2 separate regions of the Homo sapiens genome follow, and region 2 is linked to region 1. The links are contacts of gene promoters, found by promoter capture Hi-C in human tissues and cell types (Jung and others, 2019). All regions are on one chromosome and are shown on one strand. The core of a region is centred on a gene start or on the middle of the fragment in contact, and the rest is flanking DNA. Distances in the headings are between cores, read along the strand shown. Region 1 holds the start of FUNDC1 (FUN14 domain containing 1). Region 2 has its middle 36 kb from the start of EFHC2.

Region 1 (2,700 bases), core at 106-2,605:
AGCATTTTACACTGCTCTGTACAGGGCTGACAATACTAGAGGCCAGTTCTACCGTGGGAGTTTCTTAGGTTTTTTCAGCAGTTAGCACTGAATGAAATGTAAAAATTTACATATAATTAACTCATATATTTCTTCCTATCTACTATCACTGAATCAGATCCACGACATTTGCTGAACATGAGAATGGGGAAATTATATAAAGAATCAAAAGAAGGATGAGGAGGGAGAAGAGGAACAGTGGTGGGCATGGGGGAGGGGATCGCCAAAACTCAACAGGGAGCCTGGGAATGTAGATTACATCAATTTTAACTCAGAGAAAAGCCTCTTCTGGAATTAACAGTGTAGACCTACTGCCTGTGCACGGTGATTCTTGCCCATGTATGAAAGGACAGCAGTGTCAGGCCCCCAAATGAAATTTAATGAAAAAGACGTTGTTCTCACCAGCCAGTAACGCCACCCATTACAATCTGGGTAGCTACTGAGTATTTTTCTACCATAGGTCCCGAACTGTGGCCAAACACTCGATTCCACCACTGGTGTCTTCTTGCATACTCAGTTAAATCCAACACTTCATAAGAGTCGTCATCACTTTCATAGTCTTCAAAATAGCAAAATGCAAAAAATAAATGTAGAGTCAATCAAAAGTCAGAAATGTTCTATACATCTTTTTAAAAATCTGTTACAACTCATTAGTTCTGGCCTACAGCTAAAAATGCCCACATAGAAACTACTGACTTTATTTAACTCAATTCTTGAGACCAGGGCCTCAAGAGTAAAGGACCCTGCAACAATGACCCCCATCTGCTTTCCCAAAGGCCCGGGGACCAGCCTGGGGTCACGAAGCCAGGGCCAACTCAGAATGACACAGTAGTGAGGGGTCACCCCCACCTCCAAACCTTAGTAGGGTCAAGGTCAGAGCAGGGTCCATTTTCATCAGTGGGAGGAATGGGGGTGGGGAGGGGTCCTCCTGAGAGAACTAGTCTGGAGCTCAGCGAAATCACTTGAGTCCAGACGTTTAAAAAAAGAAAATAATACATTTGAAGATGGGAGATGAAGGGCCGGAGGTGAAGGTAAGGCAGGAGGCAGGTAGGGCTGTGCTGGGGGTGGGGGTGGCTCTCCGCTTGAGTTCCGCAGAGAGGGGAGGAAAAAGTCTAGCTCGGAGGGGGTGCTCGAAGGGGCTGCCTTAAAAAAAAAATGGAGCTCGAAGAATCCTAGGGCAGGGGAAGGAAGAGGTGCCATAGGAGCAAGGTCGAGAGCTGTGAGCCGCGTCCCAGATACCACTTCGGGCCCTGGCCGCTCACCTTGGGGAGGGGGGTTCCGGGTCGCCATGATACCGCCAGCGGCCAATTCTGGAGTGGTCCCCACCCGCCCTCCTCTCCCTGGCACTTTAAGGGCCGCTCTAGGCCAGGATGGAAGTCTATGGTCTCTTTTTTCCTCCTTCTCCTACTCCAGGCGCGTAGTCCTGTCTCCGCCCCCTTCTCTCAGCGCAGGACCTTCTGCCTTCTGCGCAGGCGCGAAACTCCGGAATGTGGGGAGGGCCGGGCGGATCATAGCCCCGCGAGAGCGTAGGGGACTTGTAGTCCGTTGCCTTCCGCAACTAGGAAGGGGGAGGGACCGCCCCTCCTAGAATTTCCGTAACTTGAATTTGATTATTTTGTTTTAAAAGAGCCTTAAGGGCTGAAGGAATGGGGTGAAGGGCGCCACATGGTGGTACAAAGGGAGAACCAGCTGGGTATTGACAAAGACTCTCTCCTTGACCAAACTTTAGTCAGGAGGCTCCTCTGAGCTGTTTTTGACTGGGTCTCCTCCTTGGGTCGTCTTTGACCTGCCTAGTCCATTTGTGGTAAGAATGCAGTTAAGTCAGTTTAGTAAGAACTCCCCCACCCTTAATATCGAATCACCCTCAATATCCGATCGAATTCCTCAACCCCACTCTTGATATCTGATCACTCTGCCACCAGCAAAAATCCTGTTAAATTGGCTTTAGCAAGAATACCCCTACCCTTCATGTCTACTCTTGGTAATCTTCCACCCATTGATCCATTCACTCTGATCATTTACTATAAATTCCCTGCTGTATTCAGAGTTGAGACCCATCACTCACCCCTATTGCCATAGTCTTTGTTTTATGAGAAAAGGTATTGCTCTGTCACCAGGCTGGAGTGCAGTGGCGCTATCATGGCTCACTGCAGCCTCAAACTCCTGGGCCCAAGAGATCGGCCCACCTCAGCCTCCAGAGTACCCAGGACTCCAGGCGTGCATCACCACTCCCGGCTAATTTATTTTTATTTTTTGTGGAGAGTAGGTCTCCCTGTGTTGCCCAGGCTGCTCTTAAACTTCTGGGCTCAAGCAGTCTTCCTGCCTCTGCCTCCCAAAGTGCTGGGATTACAGATGTGAGCCACCATGCCAGGCTGTATTGCAATAGTTGTGATACCTATTGCAGTAGTCATGAACAAAGTCTTCCTTACCATTTTAAGAAGTGTCCCATAATTTTTTTGTCAGGCCCATCACTTGCATACTGTCAGAATAATTTTTTAACAGTATTTTGAACATTACCAGAATTCAAATGCTTGAGGAAAAAGGCTTGTAAAAGATAAGAGAAACCCTGTTTCAAGCCATACTTTTCTAAGGGCGCAAGCGCTCACAAAGGGACCACAAGTTTTCTAATGCCCTGCTGCTAGAAGTTGGAATCTGTTTACC
Region 2 (2,700 bases), core at 115-2,614, 160 kb before region 1:
CTTATTAGAAATTCAGCACCCAGGGCTTTTCCTGGGGGGCTGGTCATGGAAGTACCCCTTGCCTGGCAGGTACCCAAATTCCAGACTCCCAGAAGGAAAGCAGATAGATGTTCAGCATAAACCGCATTGCTTGCATGAAGTTTAGGCACAGTGAGCCACTCTTACCAATTCTAGAAATGGTGGGAACCCTCCTGAAATTCAAGTTCTGGGATACCAGCTAAGAGCCAACCTTGTGAGCAAGCCTTTCTAAGGATAAGCAGTTAGGACTCTATGTTAACTCTTTACTGCACTGAGGTAACAGTTTATCTCATGGGTGCTTTTTTTTCTCTCCTCGTGGCTTGTGTCATTATTCCCATCTCTTAAGATCTAAAGCAAAGGCCTTTTAGTAAAATGAATCAACATATATTTGGGCCTTGAGGGTGTGTGTGTGTGTGTGTGTGTGTGAGAGAGAGAGAGAGAGAGAGAGAGAGAAAGAAGGATCGGAAACGGTGTAATCCCAGCACTTTGGGAGGCCAAGGTGGGTGGATCATTTGAGGTCAGGAGTTCGAGACCACCCTCGCCAACATGGTGAAACCCCATCTCTACTAAAAATATAAAGGAAAAAATTAGCCAGGTGTGATGGCGGGTGCCTGTAATCCCAGCTACTTGGGAGGCTGAGGCAGGAGAAGCGACTGATCCTGGGAGGTGAAGGTTGCAGTGAGGTGAGATCACGCCACCACACTCCAGCCTGGGTGACAGAGCAAGACTCCATCTCAAAAAAAAAAAAAAAAAAAAAGGGAGAGAGAGAGTGAGTGAGTGAATACTTAAAATAGTCATCATAATTGAAACAGCCTAAGCATTTTGGGTTGCAGATGTCTGTCTGAAGTCTTTCCTTTATGGCTAATACATTTTGAAGCCCTTACCCAGATGAGTAATTACAAGAAAGTGCAGTGGCCCACTGTTTCTGTTTTAAAATCATTCCCCACCCATTAGAATTTGCTTCAGCTGCTTTTAATATCAATTTTTATATGCAGGTACTTAGTAAAATAACAAAAATAAAAATACACCTCTGGGCAACATTTCTTCTTCACTTCAGTCACTTTTTTTTTTTAAGTCCACACCTCATCTGTTGTGTGTGGAATTGCAACTACATTTTTAGTACTGAGTTTGCGTATGGGTCTGATTTTTACCTCTTTTTTTCTTTGCTGTGTAGTTGATGTGTCTGTAACATACAATCCTATATAAAGCAAAGTCAAAGCTTCCAAGGCAAAGAAATATTTGAAATCAATCATAATCACATCTTATTCAAATAAGGCTCTTACTTCCTGAGAATTCTTCTATATCATCTGGTGCCCAAATCTTGCAGATCAATGGCCTTCAACTTTTACTCCTGGGAGATTATTTCAAATAATGACTCTCTTGCACATGCTCTTCTTCAAATCCTTATCTTCCCCAAATTTATTTAAATTGACTATGTATTCATTTTTTATTTATTCGTGGACTAAACATTTATTTAATGTCTATCATATGCCTTCTGGGTATTGGAGATACAAATATTAAAGAAAACAAAGTCACTGTGCTCAAGGAGTTAAAAGTCTAATAGGACAATTAAACAGGTTAAAAAGGCTGGGCACAGTGGCTCACACCTGTAATCCCAGCACTTTGGGAGGCCGAGGTGGGTGGATCACCTGAGGTCAGGAGTTCGAGACCAGCCTGGCCAACATGGTGAAACCCTGTCTCTACTAAAAATATAAAAAAATTAGCTGGGAGTGGCTGCGAGAGCCTGTAATCCCAGCTACTCAGGAGGCTGAAGCAGGAGTATGGCTTGAACCCAGGAGGCAGAGGTTGCAATGAGCCAAGATCGCACCATTAGACTCCAGCCTGGGCGACAGAGTGAGACTCCGTCTCAAAACAAAACAAAACAACAACAACAACAAAATAAAAATAAAACAGGTTAAAAAAACACAAATGTCTAAAGCACCAGGTATACAGGACATGGAGTAAGTAGAGGAGATAGAGTTTAAGTGGATCAGAAAAGGTTTCAGATACATGAATTCAGTTTAGAAAGATAAGTAGGAATTCATCAGAGAAACCCCAATATTCCACATGTACAGCGACCCAAAGAATGAAAACAAATGGCATATTCAAGGAATTGTCACTAACTTAGCTTGCCAAAGGGTAGGGCAAGTGGCAGGAGGTAAAACTGAAAACATTGTCAGAGGCCAGATTGTGTAGGGACTTGGAAACTATGCTTGCGAATTTTGATATTGTCCTGTAGGCAATGTTTAATCCCGGAAGAATTTTAAGCAAGAAAGAGATGTGTTGAGGTTTATGTTAGGAAGAAATATCTCTTGGGACACACTAAAGGGGGTTGGAATGGAAGACATTGAGTCCATTTGGGAAGATGCTGGCTAATCCCAGTGGGGGATTATGTGGGCCTGACCTGTTGTGACTAAGAATTACTTATTCGTAATTTAAGTCCGCATTTTAAGCTGTATTCAAAACAGAGAGGCCCGGCACCGTGGCTTATGCTGATAATCCCAGCACCTTGGAAAGCTGAGGCAGGAAGATCACTTGAGCCCAGTTCAAGACCAGCCTGGACAACATAGTGAGACCTTGTCTCTACATAATAAAAAAATTTAAAAATTAGCCAAGCACAGTGACATGTACCTACAGTCCCAAGTACTCAGGAGGCTGAGGTGGGAGGATCACTTGAATCTG

Evidence for each region. The method cuts DNA at HindIII sites, captures the fragments that hold promoters and counts their contacts. A contact is called where the count stands out against the background at its distance.
Region 2: a fragment that was not itself captured here is called in contact with the fragment with the promoter of FUNDC1 in region 1 in 1 of the 25 tissues and cell types used here (stomach).

What each region holds. Positions count from the first base shown.
Region 1 is chrX:44,541,504-44,544,203 of GRCh38, forward strand. It overlaps FUNDC1 (FUN14 domain containing 1), which reads right to left and starts at 1,356. Exons shown (of 5, transcript NM_173794.4): 1 at 1,302-1,356; 2 at 442-598. The coding sequence starts at 1,329. RefSeq lists enhancers at 1,051-1,440, 1,621-1,670, 1,681-1,740. The HindIII fragment of the contact is 19,174 bases long and covers 1-2,700 here.
Region 2 is chrX:44,378,471-44,381,170 of GRCh38, forward strand. No RefSeq gene overlaps it. Among named protein-coding and RNA genes, the nearest start is that of EFHC2, 36 kb to the left of the region's middle. The HindIII fragment of the contact is 3,616 bases long and covers 1-2,700 here.